Linked DNA regions of Homo sapiens: region 2 is linked to region 1. Evidence: promoter capture Hi-C in 16 types of primary human blood cells and fetal thymus (Javierre and others, 2016). All regions are on one chromosome and are shown on one strand. Each heading gives the region's core, a stretch centred on a gene start or on the middle of the fragment in contact. The rest is flanking DNA. Distances are from core to core; before and after follow the strand shown. Region 1 holds the start of GPRC5B (G protein-coupled receptor class C group 5 member B). Region 2 holds the start of PDILT (protein disulfide isomerase like, testis expressed).

Evidence for each region. The method cuts DNA at HindIII sites, captures the fragments that hold promoters and counts their contacts. A CHiCAGO score of 5 or more calls a contact.
Region 2: a fragment that was not itself captured here is called in contact with the fragment with the promoter of GPRC5B in region 1 in 1 of 17 cell types (M2 macrophages); the score reaches 5.2 in M2 macrophages.

Annotation. Positions count from the first base shown.
Region 1 is chr16:19,881,079-19,886,186 of GRCh38, reverse strand. It overlaps GPRC5B (G protein-coupled receptor class C group 5 member B), which reads left to right and starts at 1,339. Exons shown (of 4, transcript NM_016235.3): 1 at 1,339-1,460. RefSeq lists a silencer at 786-1,080 and enhancers at 2,596-3,326, 3,327-4,056, 4,057-4,788, 4,789-5,108. The HindIII fragment of the contact is 5,537 bases long and covers 1-3,303 here.
Region 2 is chr16:20,403,753-20,408,991 of GRCh38, reverse strand. It overlaps PDILT (protein disulfide isomerase like, testis expressed), which reads left to right and starts at 4,255. Exons shown (of 12, transcript NM_174924.2): 1 at 4,255-4,496. The HindIII fragment of the contact is 472 bases long and covers 1,699-2,170 here.

The sequences.
Region 1 (5,108 bases), core at 90-2,589:
GGCAGGGAGGGATGGGAGTATCTGGAAGGGCCACGGTCCCCAAAGATCAGGGGCTGCCACTATTCCCAGAAGGAGGTGTTCTGCATCTCCCCTTCCTGCAGCCCCCGGGAGAGGGGAGCAGGGGTCCGTCCTATCCCTTTTGGTCTTATGTGGCTGGGATGGTTGCGGCGACGGGGGTAGAGATTGGGGGGCGCACCGCGGAGGGAGAAAGGAAATCTCACCCTGAGAATCTGGAGTGCAGGGAAGGGATGCTGCTCAAAGGTCTGTTTCTGGCTTTGGCGGGGGGCCACCTGAGACTGCCAGGGTTTGATGGTCTGAAGGTCACCCAGGGAACCAGCCCCATATGGGGTGCCGGAGCGCAGCTCCCAGGCCTGGTCGAAGCAATGCGACCTCGGAGAGGCCTGAGGACTAGGACGGGGTGAGGGGGACTCAGAGACGGCTGCCCCGGACCCCTCCTTCAAGCAGGTCCCACGGCCGCCCAGCGGACACGCGTCCGGGCTGTGCCCTGACCGTCTGCGGAGCGCACGGCCAGTGGCCCGGGCCGCTGAGTGTGTGAGCCCTGAAGGGCAGTGGACATGTGCGTACGTGGGTGATGTGTGCGGTAGGGGTGGTGGCGATCCTGCGTAGGGACCCACGTGAGGGGTGCACCGACTGGACGTGTGTGTTTCGAGGGGCCAAGGAAGCGGGTGTTGGTCCCAGTGTGCGTAAACGGACAACGACATCTGGGAGTTGGGCAGTGAGGAGAGAGAAGAGTGTGTCCAGGAGGAACCTGCCTGGAGGAGGCCTAGCGGTGTGTGTGCGCCTAGGTGTATACCGGGGCGTTGGTGACTTCGAGAGGCACCGGGCGGGATCGATCCTCTCTGCGTCCTGGACCTGGTGCTGGTGTGTTTCGGGGAAGTTACTGCTTATGAACCCCCCTTGGAGCGTGGCCTGGGGGCAGGAAGGCTTCCGCGCTGGGACCCCTGGGTCGCGATACCTCCCTCGGTAAGTGTATTGGCTAGGGGAGTGTTCCCGCAAATGGATCTACCCTGGGGAGTTGCCCGGCTCGTCTGGACTGCTTACGGGCGCACTGACGTTGTGGGGGGAATGTCCCCGAATTGGGGGCACGAGGTCGGGGGAATCGTCTCTGAGATCCGGGCTAGAAGCTACGAGCTTGGGCTCCGGGGGTGCATGCAGACGGCGCCTAGCCCCGCGCGGAACCGCCGGCGGGACCGGGGGTGGGGCTCGGAGGCCCGGGGGCGGGGCCGGCCGGGGGCGGGGGCGGGGGCGGGGCCGCGGCCGCTGCAGCAGCGCGGGCCGGGCCAGGGGGCGCCTCGCGCGGCAGCGACTCTGGCAGGCGCTGCAGTGAAGCTGGACCCGCAGGCGGGCGTGCGTGGAGCGGGGGCCGCGGCCGCGCCGCAGAGATGTGACTCGGGCCGAAGGCCAGCTGGAGCGTCGGCGCTGCGGGGCCGCGGGGGTCGGTAAGTGCGAGCTGCGCCGATGCAGTGGAGGACGCTGTGGGGACCCCAGAAACTTTTCCCGCCGTGGATTTGGGAGAATTGGGGGGTCCGCTTCTTGTGTTTTTCTAAGCGCCCCCCCAACCCAAGCCAGGGAGTTTATTGCTGGGGGAGATGTGGAATCTGGGCGAGGGGAACCACGGTGCGACGAGAGCAGAGCCGTAGAGGGGTGGGCGGGGGAGGGGAGGATCTGGGGACCTTTACGGGGGGAGGGAGACTGTGCCCGGACCAGGTAGAGATCCAAGTCTCCCAGGAGGGTGTGGGGGCGACCACAGGTGAAGGGCAGCTGGGAGGGTAAAGGAGCCCAGCCGTGTCCTAGTGACTCGTCATGTGTGAGGAGCTGCGGGCTGGTCCTGGGGCCGCGTTGGGGGCTGACTGTGGACAGGGCAGACGCAGCCGGGGGCACAAGGGCTGGACTTTGGGGGTGAACAGCCGCACCTGTCGCGGGGGCTGGGGGTCAAGCCCGCAGCCGGCTTGAGTGCGCATTACTCAGCAAGGGGAGGGGGGGACACGGCGGTGGGAGATGGCAGAGCTGAGACCTGGGCTGGGGACGAATGACGGGGAGGGGTGGGGAGGAGGGGGCGGCTGCATACAATGGCGGGGGGGGCAGTGGCGTTTCCCTTCCAGACAGGGGGCACTTGGACCTCTGGAAGAGGCGGCTAGGCTGGAGATAAGGACTAGACCTGTTCTCGGTCCCCTCTCCTTGGGGGACACAGGCTTCCAGCCCCACAAGGACCCCACACATCCCGGGGTCCCTAGCGCTTAGGCCGAAAAGGGAGCGCGCGGGAGGAGCCCGCACCCGCCTTGGCCCCGGGCAGCCGGTTGAACAGCCTGGGAAGGGGCCAACGACCTTGCCCCAGAAATCTCCCCCGTGCAGCGGGTTCACTCCTCCGTCCTTGCTCTGTCACACCCAGGCCTAGCCAGTCCTCCCTTTCCGTCCCCCGTTCGCTAAGGGGGCGGCTCCTTGGAGCGCGGACAAAGGCCCCTGGAGTGTGGCGGGCAGCGGCGTCCCCGCCTGGGGCCCCAGCCCACGCGCCACATTGGCCGCCCAACTGCACCAGGCCGGGGGGCACCTGAACAGAGCCCAGAAAGCCCTGGGGGACCCCGCAAAGACAAGAGAAGTGGGGGAGGGATCTGGCACAAAAACCCCGGCACTTCAGCCAAGGAACCTTCTTAATTCAGAAGTTTCTTCGGTGGGGACTCGGGCTTGCGGAGGATCCAGGCTTTGAGTTAAACTGCATGCAAATGACATGTAAATAGAATGCAAATTGGCATCTGTCGTTTGGAAGCCCTCCCGGCCAGTTTGGTATCTAAGACTGTGGAGTGAACAGTTTGCTATCTGCTCCCTGCTCTAAGCCTGGAAAGGGGTCAGCTGAGTTGGGAAGGGAAGGAGATTCCAGGAGGAAGGAGCCGCCATTTGGGGGCACAGGCAGCAAGACAGGCAGTTTTGTTAGAAAGATAAACTCAGAATCTTTACTGGATTAATATGTTATTTCAAGAAACGTGCCAGGGACAGAACTGGGTGCCTTGTATAAAACGGACAAAACCCCTGCTCTCCCGGGGCTGGGGAAGTGAGTGGACAAACATTAAACAAACCCATAGCAAATGGCTATGAAATCCGATTGGGGTGAGGACGGCCAGGAAAATAAGATGGGGTGATGTAAAAGAAGGTGACAGGGGTGTATGTACCTGAGATGACTGTTCCGGGAGTGACATTTGAGTGGAGCCCAGCTAGAAGAGGGGCCCTCCGCTGGGAGGTCTTGGAGGAAGACTGAACCAGGAGGAAGGCACTGTGCCTGCAAAAGCTTGGAGGTGGGAATGAGCTTAGAGGAACTGAACAAAGGCCATTGTGGCTGGAGCTGTAGGCAGATTTGGGGGTGGGGATAGGGGAATGGTAGGGACCAGCCAGATCATGATCTTTTGGGTCATGGAAAGGAGTTTAGGGTTTATTCTGTTTGGACCAGTGAACCCTTGGAGGGTTTTGAGTGGGAGGCCATGGGATCTGATTTGTAGAAGCTCCCCTGACGTTGACAAGGAAATGGAAAATAGCCCCCCTTTCCATTCTGCCCATGGGGATAGAGAGACGCTGGGAGCCTCCAAGGGGCTCTGTCCAGCCTTGGGGGACCGCTTTGAGCCTAGCCAGCCACTGCAAGCCAACTGGAGGAGCAGCTCAGGTTTTAAAATCCACTCCCTGCTTTCATACAGTTTTTATCCACTCTAACGGAGCCCCCCGGAGCCCACGGCCCCGTAAGCACTTTCTCGCAGAGCTTCCTGGGGGTTCCGCTTAGTCACATTTTCTTCTCGGAATTACAGCCTGAGAGGAACCAACCACTGTGGATCGGGCAGCCAAGGATGCAATTTGCATTTCAATGATTGCTTTTATTTACAGGACTGGAGCTGCTTTGCATATTCATGGATCACAGAGCTTGTGTTCTTGCAACCCTGTTTACTAACCTATGAGGATTTTTTAATTTGAGAGCCCTCAAATGGGCCAGTGGTCTAGTCAGCATTGGGAAATGAAGATGATGAGATCCTGTAACTCGGAAAAGATATCAGAGGGTGAGAATTGGGGGTGTGGGAAAGAGCGGGTCTGAAGTCAGGAAACCTTGTAACAGTTTAATCCTGCAGAGCAGGAAATGGACCAGAGGCTCCAGCAGGAGTGAGTTGGGACAGACTATGATGCTGGGGTGCATGGGGATCTGGCTCTGCAGCCCCATCCTGAGCCTCTGCCACACGTGAGGGATTCAGAACAGGGATGCAGCAGAAACGCCTTGAGGTCAGGAGCTGGGAGAAATGGGGGCTAGTCCCAGGCCAGCCTGTAAATTCCAGTGAACCTCTGGCCAATTTTCCTGACGTCTCTGCCTTCATTTTCGCAACAGGAAAATGGGAATCATGATTGTCTTTCTTTTTTGAGACAGTTTAACTCTGTCGCCCAGGCTGGAGTGCAGTGGCGCAATCTCGGCTCACTGCTAACTCCGCCTCCCGGTTTCAAGAGATCCTCCTGCCTCAGCCTCCCAAGTATCTGGGATTACAGGTGTGCACCACCACGCCCGGCTTATTTTTGTATTTGTAATAGAGACAGGGTTTCACCATGTTGGCCAGGCTGGTTTCAAACTCCTGTCCTCAAGTGATCTGCCCACCCCAGCCTCCTAAAGTGCTGGGATTACAGGCATGAGCCACCGCGCCTGGCCATGATTGACTTTTTAACAAGCAATTCACTAAAAAGCTGTTGCTTCCTCTGTGTCGGGCACCAAACCTGACTTTTCTTTTCTTGTTGTATTTATTTATAATAGAGACAGTCTTGCTACGTTGCCCAGGCTGGTCTTGAACTCCCTTCCTCAAGCAATCTCCTGCCTCCCATAGTGCTGGGATTACAGGCATGAGCCATCACGCCTGGCCCAGACTATTTTTCACGTACTTCTCACACCAGCCTTGTAAGGCAGCGCTATCATTATCCCCATTTTACAGATGAAGAGACCGAGGTTCAGAGAGGTTAAGTAATGCCCAGTGTCATATAGCTCTGTCTGACTCCCCTCTTCTGGCCTGCCTCCCACTGAGGCCTTTCAGCCTGATGGGAGAGTGAACTGTGTACCCGTATTCATGTGGGTACTG
Region 2 (5,239 bases), core at 685-3,184, 520 kb before region 1:
TAGTGATAATAATATAAGTCAGACTTTGTTTCTTTTCTGCTTAGAACCCTCCAGTAGATACAGAGAGAACAGAGGAGTGGTTCCAGGGAACGGCTCTAAGGCATCCCTTTGAAGTCATAGAATTGTTCTAAATTTGGATTGTGGTCATGACTGCAGATCTCTGTAAATTTACTACAAAAAATAGTAATAATAATTGTACACTGCCAAAAGAAGTTTTTTGGGTTTTTTTGTTTGTTTTTGGAGACAGGCTCTTGCTCTGTCGCCCAGGCTGGAGTGCAGTGGCGCAATCTTGGCTCACTGCAACCTCCACCTCCCGGGTTCAAGCGATCCTCCCACCTCAACCTCCCGAGTAGCGGGGAATATAGGCATGCACCACCATGCCTGGCTAATTTTTGTATTTTTTTGGTAGAGATGGGGTTTCAACATGTTGGCCAGGTTGGTCTCAAATTCCTGACCTTAAGTGATCTGCCTGCTTTGGCCTCCCAAAGTGCTGGGATTATAGGTGGGAGCCACTGCACCTGGCCCAAAGGTGGTTTTTCGAAAAAGCTTCCTGCAACTCCCTATCTCACTCACAGTCCAAGCCAAAGTCCTGACGATTGCCGGGTGGGATGGCTCACGCCTGTAATCCCAACACTTTGGGAGGCCAAGGCGGGCGGATCACGAGGTCTGAAGATTGAGACCATCCTGACTAACACGGCGAAACCCTGTCTCTACTAAAAATACAAAAATTAGTCAGGCGTGGTGGCGCCTGTAGTCCCAGCTACTCTGGTGGGCGCCTGTAGTCCCAGCTACTCTGGAGGCTGAGGCAGGAGAATGGCATGAACCTGGGAGGCACAGGTTGCAGTGAGCCGAGATCGTGCCACTGCACTCCAGCCTGGGAGACAGAGTGAGACTCCGTCTCAAAAAAAAAAAAAAAGTCCTGGCAATTGCCTACAGGGCCCCACAGGAATTCCTGTGAGCCTTTCGCCTCAAACCTCCTGTCTCAGTCTGCTCCAGCCATACCGGTCTTTTTGTTGTTTGTTCTCTGAAGTTCTTTTTAAATTATTTTTAATTTTTGTGGGTACATAGTAGGTATATACATTTATGGGTTACATGAGATATTTTGATACAGGCATGCAATGCGTTAGAATCACATCAGGGTAAATGGGGTGTCCATCACCTCAAACATTTATCCTTTGTGTTACAAACAATCCATTTATACTATTGTAGTTATTTTAGGTGTATGGTTACATTATTTTTGAAGATAGTCATCCTATTGTGCTAGGAAATACTAGGCCTTATTCATTCACTCTTACTACTTTTTTGTACCCATTAACCATCCCCACTTCTCCTCCAACTCCCTGCAACACTTTCCAGCCTCTGGTAACCGTCCTTCTACTGTCTCCATGAGTTCATTTGTTTTCCTGTTTAGCTCCCACAGGTAAGCGAGAATGTGCAATGTTTGCTTTCTATGCCTGGCTTACTTCCCTTAATGTAATGACTTCCAGTTCCATCCATGTTGTTGCAAATGACAGGGTTATGGGTGTCCTATAGAGAGGATGCTGAGCCATTAACTGCCTATCTTTGCAGTGATTCAAACTTCACCCTGGATTTTTATCCATCACTGTATGTTGTTCCCCTGTGACTCTGTCTCATTTCCTGGCCTGGCCAGTTTGGCCCATTTCCACGCAGGCAGCTCCTCTCCCTTGCCGCCAAGCTTGGCCACAGGGAACCATCTTATGAGCCCTCAATGTCCATTTGCTCAGCATTCAGTCCTCTACTGCGACCCAGGATACAACCTCATCTCTGAATCTGCAGCCAGATGTAAAGATACAATCTCTACCCTCAGAGGGGTGGACGGACTGTTGAACATTATTTCTCCAGCAGTCTAATCTCAATATCGTTACTCTCAATCAGTACTTTTTAGAAGAATATATAATCATAAGTCATGACAAATGTTTCATAAATGTTCAATGAAAGAACTGGATACACTTTATAGACAATATAATCACAATTTTATTTTTAAAAAGTATATATTAATCCCATACGTAACAAAATATGAATGTTTCTCTAAGTAAGATGATGTATGATTTCAATTAACTCATTTTTTCTGTATGTTCTATGTTTTAGAAATTAAATCCTGTTCTTTTCTAATCAGAAAGAAATTAATGTTATTTTATAAAAAGAAGCTTTAAGCCGGGCACAGTGGCTCACGCCTGTAATCCCAGCACTTTGGGAGGCCGAGGTAGGTGGATCACCTGAGGTCAGGCGTTTGAGACCAGTTTGGCCAAAATGGTGAAACCTCGTCTCTACTAAAAATACAAAAATTAGCCGGCCGTGGTGGTGCATGCCTGTAATCCCAGTTACTCAGGAGGCTGAGGCAGGAGAATTACTTGAACTCAGGAGGCGGAGGTTGCAGTGAGCCAAGATTGCACCACTGCACCCCAGCCTGGGCAAGAGAGCAAGACTCTGTCAAAAAAAAAAAAAGCAGCAGCAGCTTTATCAGTAAATGAGTATCATCATAAAAGTGCCTATGTTATGTCAAGAAACAACTGTGTGCAAGAGTGAAGGAAAATGAATGAAGGACATTTGGGATAATAACCCAAGTGTTTTAGTTTGTGACTAACAGTTGACAAGTGTGAAAGATGTCAAAATAATATATGCCAGACTAGATTGTTGATTTAGGCCTGGGAGAAAAAAGAGTCAAACACATCCCAGGAATTATTTGCAAACACAACATCCAGAAAAGGAATAATTGCCAAGAAAAGTTGAAAGGGACATGATGAGTTCAAATTAAGACATTCAGATATTCAGTGAGTGTGGTTCAACCAAAAAGAGCTTTTCTAATAGGCAGATGGAAAACGGTCTTAATAGTAAATGTAATCAATTGATCAAATCCTGGAGAGTAAATGAGAGAGTAACTTATAAAGGGGTGTATTTGAAGTCATGCATTTAAACAAGCCAACAAAAGTATGGAAGTTAAGTATGGAAAGAGAAGAGTGGGGCCGCATGCCGTGGCTCACGCCTGTAATCCCAGCACTTTGGGAGGCCGAGGCAGGCAGATCATTTGAGGTCAGGAGTTTGAGACCGACCTGGCCAATGTGGTGAAACCCCGTCTCTACTAAAAATACAAAAATTAGCCAGACGTGGTGGTGCATGCCTGTAGTCCCAGCTACTCAGGAGGCTGAGGCAGGAGAACCGCTTGAACCCTGGAGGTGAAGGCTACAGTGAGTGGAGATCGCGCCACTACACTGTCTCAAAGAAAAAGAAAAGAAAGAGAAGAGCAAAGCGCTAGGACTAAAACCCACAGATGTTAAAATTTAGTGAAATGAATGTTAGTCATCTCCATCAGTATTTAATAACAGTTGGGCAGCAGATAGCCAAAGGCTGCAAACTCTGACAGTAATAACGATGCTAATAATATCAACAGCCTTTTCTTTATTCATTCAACAAATATTTACTGAGCACCTATCACCAGGTAAGCAAAGTAAATTATGTGGAGTTTAGAAGAAAATTAATGCTATGAAGGAAAATAAAGCCTGGAAGGAGGATGAGGAACGCCTGAGAGGGGGATGGGGCACTTACAAATTTAAACAAAGTGGCCAGGAAAGGCCCAACTGTGGAAGTGACATTTGGGCAAAGACTGGAACGAGCTAAGGGGTGAACCCTGAGTCCACCTGGGTGAAGAGCCTCCCTAACAGGGGAAACCACAAGTGTAGAGGCCCAGACATTGTATTGGAGGACTGGCAGGGACACCAGTGTGGCTGGAGCAGGGTGAGTGGAGATCTTTCTCCCCTAGGAGATGAGGCCAGGGTGGTGATGCGTGAGGGGCTCCTGCCTTCTAGGTACTGAGCTGCTCGTTTTGCATAAATCCTCTTATTTTATCCCATCCCCCTCTCAGGCGTTCCTCATCATCCTTCCAGGTTTTATTTTTCTTCATATCATTAATTATCTTCTAAATTCCACATAATTTACTTTGCTTACAACACCCCCATGAGTTAGATGCCATGTAACAGGCATGGAAACTGAACCTCAGAAAGAGTAAGTGACATTCTCAAGGCCATACAGCTGTTCAAGACAGAGCTGGGATTCAAATTCCAATCTATAGGCACTGAGTTCAGAGCCCTCCTGGGCCATACCCAGCACCCCACACTGAGTTTTGTTTCTAGCCCCTCAAGCAAACTCAGCAAGGGCTGCCAGGCAGGGCCCCCTCTTACTCAACAATGGCCCATTCTTCTACAGGGTCACCCCTGGTCCTCTAGAACCCCAGAACTCAGAACTTTGCTGCTGAGGCTGCTGTGGCCTCTGTGTGCCCAGGAAGGGACTTCATTTCTGCCTGTGGATTCTTTAGAATGCCCAGTCGTCTGCGGGTCCTGCCCTGATCACAAGGAGAAGCCAGGAGCCTCCTCTTCAGGCTACAACCTTCCTTCTTAAGGGCCACAGAGTTTGTGGCCCCACCCCCAGCACAGCCCCACCTTGGCCCCAGGAACCCTGGGAGTGGCCTTGGCTTCCTGCAGGTATGAGCTTCAGTGAAAATGGGAAATCTGACTGATGGGCCCTGCCTTGGGAGGCTTTTCTCTACCAGGAGTCACCAGTTTAAGTTTTAAGTGTCAGTTTTGGTGTATAGATGGCTACACATTAGGATCAACTTGAGGATTTTAAAAAATAATAATAATGCCCAGACTCACCCAACCCCAGATCAATTAAATTAGAACCTACTGGGTTTGGGTTTGAACATCAGTATTTTTTATTAAACTCTCCAAGAGATTCTCAGCATAGTCATGGTTGAGAACCACTGAAATGAACCAATGGGGTTTGCTGTAAGAGTTAAATTAGGCCATTCATTCATTCATTCAACAAACATTCATTGAGTTCCAAATCTGGTACAGGCACTGTTCTGAAGGGGAGAAAACAGCTGTGAACAATGGTATTTACATTAAAAAGTTCAAAATGACAACAACAACAAAGTACACTCATAAATAATAATACAAAATATGATGCAAACAATGGTGATATGGCAGAGAGTGCTGAAAGCTGAGATGGGGTGAGACAGAGTGGCCCGGGAAGACCCTTCTGATGAGCGTGGATTCGAGCTAGGACCCAGAGAACCAGAAAAGGCTGACGATGTGAGGGAAGGGTGCCCCAGACAGAGGCAAAGGCCCCGGGTAGGGTGTGCTTGGGAAAGGGAAGAGGCCAGTGTGGCTCCCCAGAGTGCGGGAGGAGAGAGAGAGAGGAGGGCGATAAGGTCAGATGGGTCCAG